Regions from separate parts of the Homo sapiens genome. Here region 1 is linked to region 2. Evidence: promoter capture Hi-C in 16 types of primary human blood cells and fetal thymus (Javierre and others, 2016). All regions are on one chromosome and are shown on one strand. Each heading gives the region's core, a stretch centred on a gene start or on the middle of the fragment in contact. The rest is flanking DNA. Distances are from core to core; before and after follow the strand shown.

What was found. Contacts are between HindIII fragments. The CHiCAGO score rates a contact against its expected background, and 5 or more counts as called.
Region 1: a contact is called between the fragment with the promoter of PAK1 here and the fragment with the promoter of NARS2 in region 2, in 5 of 17 cell types (non-activated CD4 T cells, total CD8 T cells, activated CD4 T cells and 2 more). The highest score is 9.8, in non-activated CD4 T cells.

What each region holds. Positions count from the first base shown.
Region 1 is chr11:77,471,851-77,477,374 of GRCh38, reverse strand. PAK1 (p21 (RAC1) activated kinase 1) reads left to right here and starts at 3,281. Exons shown (of 15, transcript NM_002576.5): 1 at 3,281-3,823. RefSeq lists silencers at 3,047-3,406, 3,637-3,686, 3,707-4,016 and an enhancer at 3,257-4,173. The HindIII fragment of the contact is 2,576 bases long and covers 2,567-5,142 here.
Region 2 is chr11:78,573,339-78,579,246 of GRCh38, reverse strand. It overlaps NARS2 (asparaginyl-tRNA synthetase 2, mitochondrial), which reads left to right and starts at 4,383. Exons shown (of 14, transcript NM_024678.6): 1 at 4,383-4,899. The coding sequence starts at 4,759. RefSeq lists enhancers at 4,088-4,227, 4,888-4,997. The HindIII fragment of the contact is 10,208 bases long and covers 97-5,908 here.

The sequences.
Region 1 (5,524 bases), core at 2,032-4,531, 1.1 Mb after region 2:
TTTGGTCTTTATTTAGAAGTTTGATGATGTCTTGTGACCAGAAATATGCCACAGGAACTCAACTCTTATTTATATCAATTAGCCAGCCTATGGTAAAATTGGTTTTGTTATACATTGTTTTGCCTAAAGTTGCAGAACCCATTGATGGCGTTAAGTGAGGACTTACTGTATACACTTATCCTACTTATTTATTCCACTTCTAGCCCATCTCTGATTTCAGCTGCAGCTTTGGTGGACAGTTTCACTTCTCATCCTGCTAGCAATTCCTAGCATAGAGCAGTCACCTTTGATTAGAGATTGTATTAGTTTCTTATGGATGCTGTAACAAATTATCAAACACAAAGTGGGCTTAAAACAATACACATTTATTTTTATTTTTTTATTTTATTTTTTGAGATGGAGTTTCACTCTTGTCTCTAGGCTTAAGTGCAATGGCGCAATCTCGGCTCACAGCATCTTTACCTCCTGGATTCAACCGATTCTCCTGCCTCAGCTCCCGAGTAGCTGGGATTACAAGCATGTGCCACCACGCCCAGCTAATTTTGTATTTTTAGTAGAGATGGGGTTTCACCATGTTGGCCAGGCTGCTCTTGAACTCCTGACCTCAGGTGATACACCCGCCTCGGCCTCCCAAAGTGCTGGGATTACAGATGTGAGCCACTGTGCCTGGCCAACAATACACATTTATTATTTCACAGTTCTGTAGTTCAGAAGTCCTAAATGGATGTCAGTGGGCTAAAATTAAGGTATCATCAGGATACCATCTCTTCCTTTCCAGAGGCTCCAAGGGAGGATCCATTTTCTTGCCTTTTCCATTTTCCAGTCTGCTCCCAAAAGCTGGAGAGTCCCTTTCCCCAAATCCTCAATTTACTCACATCTGCAGAGTCCTTTTGTCATGGAAGGTAACATATTCATAGTTCCCAGGGATTGGAATGTGAACATTCCATTGGATGAGCCATTATTCTGCCTAGTGCAGAGATCACGAAAAGACAATCCAGATTAGAGTCAATTTACTGGGTTAGGATCCTGGGTTAAGTTACTTAACCCCTCTGTGCCTCAGTTCCCGCATCAATAAGATGGGTGAGGATAACAACAGTATCTACCGTAGAGGGTAGAGGTTTAAAGACAGTGTTTGTAAAGTGCTCAGAACAGTACCTGGCACATAGAAAGAACAATAGGAACATTTATTAAATACATTTTTTTTGAGACAGAGTTTTGCTCTTGTCACCCAGGCTGGAGTGTGGTGGTGCAATCACAGCTTCCTACAACCACCGCCTCCTGGGTTTAAGCAATTCTCCTGCCTCAGCCTCCTGAGTAGCTGGGATTACAGGTGCCTGCCACTACGCCCGGCTAATTTTTGTATTTTAGTAGAGATGGGGTTTCGCCATATTGGCCAGGCTGGTCTCAAACTTCTGACCTCAGGTGATCTGGCTGCCTTGGCCTCCCAAGTGCTGGGATTACAGGCGTGAGCCACCGCGCCTGGCCTTATTAAATATATTTTAACAACATATTGATACTTAGGTATATGTCAAGCACTGTTTTAGGTGCTGAGGATATGGAAAGGAATATGACTTGGAACTCAAGAAATTAGATACACAAATGCAGTTACTTCCATAAAAGGCATAGAAATACTATAGAATTACAGTTTTGTTAAGGCTTAGGGAAACTTTAGAAATATTAGTCAAATGAATATGAATATGAATATGAATGACATTTGAGCTCAGCTTTGTACAATGAATAGGTGTTGGCCAGTCAGCTAAGTAGGGAAGAGCTTGAAGACATGAAGAAATGTGTATTCAAATAACGTTAATATTTCAGTGTGCTTGGAGCAAAAAATAAATGATGTGAGACAAAGCTAGAAAGGCTAGTGTAAGCAGTCAGGTAATAAAGTGCCAAGTTCAGGAGTTTGAACTTTATCCTGAAAGCAATAAAATCCTTTCGGTGTTTAAACGGGAGGACATCATCAGATTTGTGCTTTTATAAGGCTACTCAGGTAACTAGTGAGAAAAATAGATTGAGTTTGAAGAGACTAAAGGTTGCTCCAGTTGTTCAGGTGGTGGTAGTAGAAGACGACACAGGCAAGGACTTGAAAAATATTTAGGAGAAGCTACAAGACTTGGTGTCCAACTTGATATGGATGTTGAGAGAGGAAGAACGGGGAGCTATTAGTATGTCTAGGTTCCTGGCTTAGGGGATTGTTGAATGGGTGGCCCATTCATTGAGAACGGAAAGGAACGTAAGAAGCAATTTTGGGGGGGAAATAATAATAATAGCCAACATTCTAAAGGGCTTGTTACTATTACCATGGTAAAACTGAGGCTTAGGAAGACCTAGTTAAGGTACTACTTATTATTACAGAAAAATTACGGCTTAGAAATGTCAAGGTCCTATCACTAATATTTGAATAGCTAGGATTTCAAGCAAGGCAACCTGATTCCGGACTCTTAGCCTTTCTAATGCTGTCTCAGTTTCGCACATGTTGAATCTGAGGTACGAAGAGTATGCAGGTAATGCTGCTCGGGAGGTATTGGGAAATACACAATCTGAGCTCAGGAGAAAGAAAGCTTTGGGTCGAAAGTACCCTCCACGGTAGGGGAAAAAACGTGAAAGGAAGCCCATTCTTTTCGTATGTCAGTTCACATTAGTTCAAACATCTCCGTTATAATTTCTTTGTCTTCCTCCCACCCCTGCCCCCTCTCCCACAGAAAGAAAACATAATACATGTCTGGCTGTGAGATCACACGACATCGGATAGTTTTCAAATTCAGCCCTTGACAACGAGCTCATAGATGCGGTGGTGCTTTGTTAACCTGAAAAGGACCCTCAGCGCCGGAAGTTAGCCGTCTTTCTCCATCCTGACTACTACAGTAGCCCTCCCAGAAATCGTCCCAAAATTGTCTGATAGAAAGGCTGCACGGAAACAACCCGCCACGGACAGCGGACCGAGAACAGTGACGCGACGCGATGACGTCACGCAGCAAGCGGGTGATTCCCCAGCCTCTGGCGTCACGCGCCGATGACGTAATCCCAGGCGTTCGCCCTCATGCGGGCCAGGGTTTGGCCTCGCTCCCACGGGTCGGTCAGGCCCTCCCCGCCCCCTCTCACCTGCGGGAGGCGGGGCGGGCACGGCTCCACCGGAGCCGCAGCCGCCGCCGCCGCGCCGGGGAGGGGGAGTGGGGGAGGGGGAGGGGGAGAAGGGGAAAGGGCAGAGGGGAGGAGGAGGCGGGAGGAGGAGGAGTAGGGGAGCCAGTGAACTAGGCGGTCAGGCCTGCCGGGCGGCGTACAATAGCGCGGCTGTGGGCGGGGGAGGCTGCCCTCCCGCGGCTGCAGCCGGAGCCGAAGGTGGTGGCTGCACAGTAGACGCCCCCTCACGGCTTCCCCCACACGCTCCCGCCCCCTCGCTCGCCCATCGCGCTTCCCTCACAGGCTCTGCAGTCCTCCCCCACAGACGCCTTCCCCCTTGGACTCTCATTCCCTTTTCCACGGAGCCCCGCGCTTTCGTGAGCCCCCTCGAGGAACCTGGTCTCCGCATCCAGTTACCACCTCCTGCCTCAGAGGCCATCTGAGCCCTTCGCACCTCGCCCCTCAGTCCCCCCTTCCCCCCCCGCCCGCGTCGCCTCGCTCCCTCCCGCCCCCCCATCATCCCTTCCCTCGCAGTTCCCCTGTCCTGAGGGGAGCCCCGCCACGGGCAGCGCGGCGGCGGCGGCAGGAGGGAGAAAGTGAAGCGGTAGCTCGCGCACACTCGCGCCCTCACTCCCGGCTAGGCGGCACCCACCGCCGGGAGGAGGAGGAGGAGCCGAGAGGAGCTGAGCGAGCGCGGAAGGTGAGAGCGGGCCTACCGCCCAGTACCCCTCGCGTCCCGGGCTGCCAGGGCTGGGGCGCGGGGGTGGGGACGGGTGGAGTGGGGGTCTGGGCCCATTTATTTCGCGTTGCGGGGCCGGGCGCCTGGGCGGGAGGAGGCGCCAGGTAAGGTGAGGCGGGCGGCGCCCCGCGAGGCCCGCTCCCGTCGGGCCAACAAAGGCCCCCTGTGCGCGTACCGGCGGGGTCGCGGGTCTCAGACGCCGGGCGATTCGAGAGACCTGGGAGAGGGAAGGGGCGGGGCGGGGCCAGGCCAGGCTGGAGCCGGGAGGCCACACGAGTACCGGTCCGGGACCGAGTCCGTCCCGAACTTCGCAGTCCTGCGGCGCTCACCCTGTCCCGCTACGAGGAGGCACAGCAAAGCGGCGCCCAGTTCCTTCTGCATGGAATAAATGACCCCTTCCAGGCTTGGACAGTCACCTTTAGGGTTCTACTCCCTGAAAAATAAGGGCTGGTAGGACTTGACTTACGCAGCCCCTCCCCCACCCCGGAATATTCTGTAACTTGGGAAGTGAAAAACAACCGGGGAAGGAGATTTATAGTTATTTTATGTTCATTATTACGTTTGAAAAGACATGATTGTTGTAGCCTTCGCTATCCTATTTCAGCAGTACACATTACTGGGAGTGTTTTGGAAGAATACTTGAGAAGTAGTGGGTGTGGCGTTGTGAGCAACGTCCTTGGTTTTTAAACCCCTTGGATAATTGTTCTACTGTTACAAAAACTGTGAACAGTGAAGGGAAGGGTTAGTTCCGTGGTTACTAATAAAAATTCAGATTCATTAGTCTTGACTTTAAGAATTGTTCCTGAGAACAATCTTTAATTTTGCCTCCTACATTTTTGGGTTCTCTTTCAACTCTGTCAGGAGAAAGTAGGAATTATCAGTACAGATACCTCATCTCTCTTACCCTGTGGCTTCATCTACTTCTTGTGTGACCTTGAGCAGGTCACTTCCAGCCTTAAAAGCTCCAGAAGTTTGGTTTTATGCCCCAAAACGGGCAAGTAGCAAGCACCGGACTCAGCTTTCAAGAGTCCACTGAAGAATTCCCACACTGTGAAGTCTTTGCTGGCCTCCATCCTGTCTCTCCTCTTACAGACAGAGCTGATTTCTTCCCATTGGCCCGGTGGGATTTCTACCACAGCACTTACAACATTTTGGTTCCTATTTGGAAAATTCTAAGTCAGGTGCATATAAAAACTCCCCACCTCAACTAGAAACTATGCCTTTCAAAAAGGGTTTTGGGAACATTGACCCTGAAAACTTCCCATACTTTCCCTGAAGCTTATCCATACTCTTTAACTACATGAGCTCATGGGTCTACCTTGGTAAATTTGCTTATTCAGTCAATTCGTTTATCCAACATTACTGGAGTTCGGAGAGCTACTATGTTTCAGGCCTCTTGCTAAGGCTATGGGGATTCAGTCTATTAAGATATTCCCTGTCTTCAAAGAGCTCAAAGTCTAATGGGTGAGGTAGACAAGTAAACAATGAAGGTCTGCCCTAATCTCTGGGGGACTCCAGTTGTACAGGTAGTAGTGTGCAATAATTGAGGCTGCTGGACCTGTTTTACAAGTCTTCTCTTGGCCAAAGTGAGTCCTGCAGGGAAGGTGACCTGCCTCATCCATAACAGGGCATTTGGTAAAAAGCTTGTTCAGTTCAATTCAA
Region 2 (5,908 bases), core at 3,134-5,633:
AAGTGTTGACAAGAATGTAAAGCGACTGAAACTCTCATATATGGCTGGTCACACTGGTGACACTTTGGAAAAAATTTGGCCCTATTTGTTAAAGCTTAAGGTTGCATGTCTTATAGCAATTTCTCTCAACTATGAATAGCACCATGCAAGGTCCGTGGGTGTTTTGTTTTGTTTTGTTTTGTTTGAGACAGAGTCTCACTCCATCGCTCAGGCTGGAGTGCAGTGACATAATGCAACCTCCGCCTCCCAGGTTCAAGCAATTGTCCTGCCTCAGCCTCCTGAGTAGCTGGGATTACAGGCATGTGCCACCACGCCTGGTTAATTTTTTTTCGTTTTTCTTTTTTTTTTTTTTTTTTTTTTTTTTTGAGATGGAGTCTTGCTCTGTCGCCCAGGCTGGAGGGCAGTGGTTTGATCTCAGCTCATTGCAACCTCTGCCTCCCAGGTTCAAGCAATTCTCCTGCCTCAGCCTCCCCAGTAGCTGGGATTACAGGCACCTGCAACCACACCTGGCTGGTTTTTGTATTTTTAGTAGAGACGGGATTTCACCATGTTGGCCAGTCTGGTCTCGAACTCCTGACCTCAGGTGATCCACCCACTTCAGCCTCCCAAAGTTCTGGGATTACAGGCATGAGCCACCGCATCTGGCCGATGCCTGTCTAATTTTTGTATTTTTAGTAGAGATGGGGTTTCGCCATGTTGGCCAGGCTGGTCTTGAACTCCTGGCCTCAAGTGATCTGCATGCCTCGGCCTCCCAAAGTGCTGGGATTACAGGCATGAGCCACTGCGCCCAGCCAATTTTAACTTTTTGTCATAGACTTATGTATATTTTATGATAGTAAATGATAAAATAGACTAGTAACTACATGTATCTTGTGAATTCATGACCTTTTTATTAAATGCTTTGATATTTCTAGGCTACACAGGTCATTAGTAAGTTTTCTGAAATTGTCACAAATCTCCAAGAAATTTTCCAATATATTTATTGAAAAAAATTCACATACAAGTGGACCGGCACAACTGAAACCCATGTTGTTCAAGGGTCAACTATATATTCATATTAAAAACATCATTTGCACTCCTGTCTGGAAGGTGATGAATCTAAAAGGGAAGGTGTCAAGCCAACACTGAAAACAAAAATAAACAAGAAGATGATGTGATTTGATATAGCACAAGATACAGGGGATGGTTTGAACTGAGCACCAGAAGCGTAAGTTGTATAGTAAACTTTTTCTCTTGTCTTCAACATACTGGGGCAGTGGTCCCCTGCTAAGAACATAATTAACCTTTTGGCTTAAACAAGTAGTGAGAGGGTAAAGGAAGGCAGGAGCCTCACTCCCTGGGACTCAGACTCCAGTTCTTAAGCTGCACATTGTTCCCTGGAGTAGGGGAGTTGGGAGAGAAAGAAGGTGCCTTAGCCCATTTTATGTTGCTGTAAAGGAATACCTGACACTGGGCAATTTATAAAGAAAAGAGGTTTATTTAGCTCATGGTTCTACACGATGAGAAGTTCAAGGGCATGGCCCTGGCTTCTGGTGAGGGCTTTCGTGCTGCATCACAACGTGGTGAAGAAGGTCAAAGGGGAAGTGGACATGTGCAAAAAGGGGAACCCCTGAGGGGCATCCTGGCCTTATAACAACCTACTGTGGTGGAAACAAGCCCATTCTTGCAAGAACTCATGCAGTCCACGGAAACAGCACCAAGCCACTCATGAGGGATCTGCTCCCATACACCAGACCACTTCCATTAGGCCTCATCTCCCAACACCACCACATCAGGGATTAAATTTCAACATGAGTTTTTGTGGGGACAAACAAATCATATCCAAGCCATAGCAGAAGGCAAGACAGAAAAATGGCATGAGTAAGAAATGAGCCAACTGGTTACTACTTTTGATCACTTGGACAGGGTAGGCATAGGCAAAGAAAAGATTTTCACTGGGATAAACATCATTGTTATGTACCCCAGACTGTCTTGTTCCCCAGATTTTGAACGAGCGAACTTTTTTTCCCTTAAAAGTCCATAGCTGCATAATTCTGAAGGCATTGGCTGCAAGTTTCCATTTTTCCTTTCTCAAGGTTCAAGAAGTGCCCAAGTATTTTTTTCTTTTCTTTTCTTTTCTTTTTCTTTTTTTTTTTGAGACAGAGTCTCACTCAGTTGCTGAGGCTGGAGTGCAGTGACGTGATCTCAGCTTACCGCAACCTCTGCCTCCCAGGTTCAGGCAATTCTCCTGCGTCAGCCTCCCGAGTAGCTGGGACTACAGGCACATGCTGCCACATCCAGCTAATTTTTTATATTTTAGTAGAGATAGGGTTTCACCATGTTGCCCAGGCTGAGCTCAGGCAGTCTGCCCACCTTGGCCTCCCAAAGTGCTAGGATTACAGGCGTGAGCCACTGCGCCTGGCCTATATATTTTTTTTGATCGATAAGAAGTGTATTCATTTATTTGCACAGTTCTGCAGGCTGTGCAAGAAGCATCGCACCAGAATCTGCTTCCACTCAAAGTAAATAATGTCAAGGTTTGTTGTCATTCAGCCATTCAGGAAGGCAAAGGGGAGCAAACATCACATGGCAAAAGAGGAAGGAAGAGAGAGGGAGGGGGGTGCCAGGCTCTTTTCAACAATCAGCTTTGCAAAAACTAATGGACTGAGAATTCACTCCTGCAAGGGTGGCACCAAGGCCTTCATGATCCAAACACTTCTCACTAGGTTCCACCTCCAACATCAAGTATTTTCAGATGAGATATTTTCTAGCCTGTCTTAAGAATGATTTTACAATTTTTCCAGGCCATTTGCCCTCCTGGCAACCTTCCGTGTTCACCTTCTGGCAGGAAATTTTCTTACATGCCTACCTGGCAAAATATTGATCCACTTCAAAAATTCAGCTTAATTTTCTCCTTCTCTAGACTATATTATATTTTATCCAACATATTTTATATTATAAGTATATAATATATAATATATCCAATATAATTTAATTATATATTATAATTTATAATTATAATTTTATTATATTTATAATTTTAATTTATTAAAAGAACCAGGGAACACATTTATATTATATAAAATATAAAATTGTGATACATGTATATATTATAATTGTATTATATTTTATCCAATATAATATTTGGATAAAATATCAAAAATAATTTTTTGGATAAATTTAAGAGGTAGCCTAATATATAAGGGTGACTTTTCAGTCCAAACAAATGCAGACAACTCATACATCTATGTGTGCACTTACTGGTTTATATTTCAGTAGTCTCTTTTCTTGCTTGTCTCCATCTCTAAAGCATGAGCTCCTTGATGGAACAGATCACCTTGGGACACTATGTAATACAGCATACTGCTTAAGTGCATAGAGCCAGCACTTCTGGGTTTAAATCTCACACTTAGGGAATGTGTATCCTTAAGTAGGTCATCTAGCCTTTCTGTGCGTAAGTTCTCTCATTTGTAAAATGGGTATAATAATAGTAGCAACTTTAAGTAAGGTAAAAGTGAGAGAGAGAGAGTGAGAGTGAGAGGGAGCGGGAGAGAGACAGCGAGGGCGAGCGCTGGTCTTGAACTCCTGGGCTGAAGCAATCCTCCTGCTTCTGCCTCCCTAAGAGTTGGGATTACAGGCGTGAGCCACCGCACTTGGCCAAACGTTTTACTTTTTAAATTAGATTAAAAACCTTTTAATGACCGTCATTGAGTTACAGAATTTTTTTTTTAATAAAACGTAGCCTAATATATAAAAGGGTCATTGTTTCCAGGTCAAACAAATGCAGATAGCTGTGTTGGAGGGCAGAGGGAAGAGGGAGACTTGGAGGATTCTGGCAGGAAACACTCGAGTTTCCTCCAGTCTCTGCAACATCTTCCCACCGTCTTGCCTGCCATATGCAAGGTCCCTCCAGTTCCTTTTATTTACCTGTCAGAGGACTACTTTCTCCAGGAAGCCATCTCTGGCGTCCCACGCTTAGGCTCTGTCAGGCAAACTGATCGCCCTTTTATGCAACTGTCTGTTTAGCTGTCTGATACCACACAACTGTGACTTGCGCATTGGGGCTATGTCTGATTTTTCTCTGCGGAGTACTCAGGAAAGGAACGACTGATCTCTTCAAGCGAATCCTGTTAACAGCTAAGAGCCTCCTCTTACTTGGATCCCTATTGTTGACTGATGGAGACGGTTTCCCTCTCCATCAGTCACTCCTTGCCTCTCAGTTTCTCAGCCTCACCTGGAAACTTTAGAAATGAAGACCCTCAGATGTGCTCCCACGTTCTTTCAGCGATAATCTCTACAACCTTAGGGCATTAGCTCCGCCCCGTCTCGGCTCCTGACCCCGCCCCCTCCCGCACGCCTCCCTAAGCCTGGGTCACAAGTACGCATGCTCTCCCTTCTTCCCCGTAGCGTGATGACGTAAGCGGCGTTGGCGTGGTGTGGTAGGAGTGGTTGCGCGTGTTGCGGCCCGGGTTCTGTTCGTAGGTTTACAATTGTCGCGGGTAGTGGGGCGCCCCAGCTGCCAACTGCACGTGGTTTCTTTCTGGCGTTTGCCTAGTGTCCTGTCCATTCCGCCCCGTTGGGAAGTGGGAAGCGGAGAGGTTCTGTGGGGACAGAGCTGGGAGTCCTGAAGGAGAAAGCGCGCAGCCGAGGGGCTCTGGAGTGCCTTAGAGCAGAGCTGCGGCCGCGGAAGGGGAGCAGCTGAGAAAGGAGGGCCGCTGCAGGCGGGGTTCGAACCGTGGGGTCTGGGCTGCTCCCGCGGAGGGCCTGGGCGGACGCGGGATGCTGGGGGTCCGCTGCCTGCTGCGGTCCGTGCGCTTCTGTTCCTCCGCCCCCTTCCCCAAGCACAAACCTTCAGCCAAACTGAGCGTGCGGGACGCTCTCGGGGCTCAGAACGCGAGTGGGGAGCGCATTAAGATCCAGGTTGGTGAATGGGAAGGGAGTGGGTTTTTTCTTGTAGGGACTTTTATATGGCACATCCACATCTAGCTTTTCTTTTACAGTCGGGTCAGACACAACCGCCAGCAGGGAAAAGTTAGAAAGTGTAGGCGTCGCGGGTTTGCACTTTTCTGATTTCCATTACTTTTCACAAAACTGTTCCGATAACTGTAAAGCGCTGGAACTTTGCTTTCATGATTCCAGGGTATTACCTGTAAACTTGTTAATCATACCAAAAGTGTAAATGAACAAGCCCCCTTTCTCTATCTTTATCCCTTATAATGAATATCCAGGTTTATAAAGTGGTTGTCTTGACCTCCCTCCTTGAGAGCAGAAACCGTGTCTTACCTGCCTTTGTATTCACACATGGCTGACAGCAAATACTTGTTCAAACCATGCCTTTTAAACTTTTAGCGACCTCAGTGCCTATTGTGGGGGTCTGCATGTAATTTATTTTTAATGAATTCGGAGAAAGACTGGAATGTAGCAGTTTGAAAGAGCTCTGGAGTTAAGCTGCTTAGGTTTAAATCTCTGCATAGCGTTTATGCGTTCTACACCTTATTTTCCTCTTATGGAAAGAGATAATAATTGTCCCTGAGTCCTGAAAATTAAATGAGGTAATGGAAGTAAGATATTTAGAACAGTGGCTCATAGTCTACAAATGTTAGCTGCTATTGTTTCTCTTGCTGATTATATTATTTGCAGCAGCTCCACATAGAAGAGGTGCAGAATAAACAAGGTGTTTGACTGTTTCTTATTAGGTTGCTGAAGTACACTGATGTGGTTATTTATTTTTTGAGACAGGGTCTAGCTCTGTCACCCAGACTGGAGCGCAGTGATGTGATCTCAGATGACTACAACCTCCATCTCCCAGGCTCAAGCAATCCTCCTGCCTCGGCCTCCAGAGTAGCTGAAACTATAGGCATGCACCACCACACTCTATAATTTTTTAAGTTTTTTGTGAAGATGAGTCTCACTGTATTGCCCAGGCTGG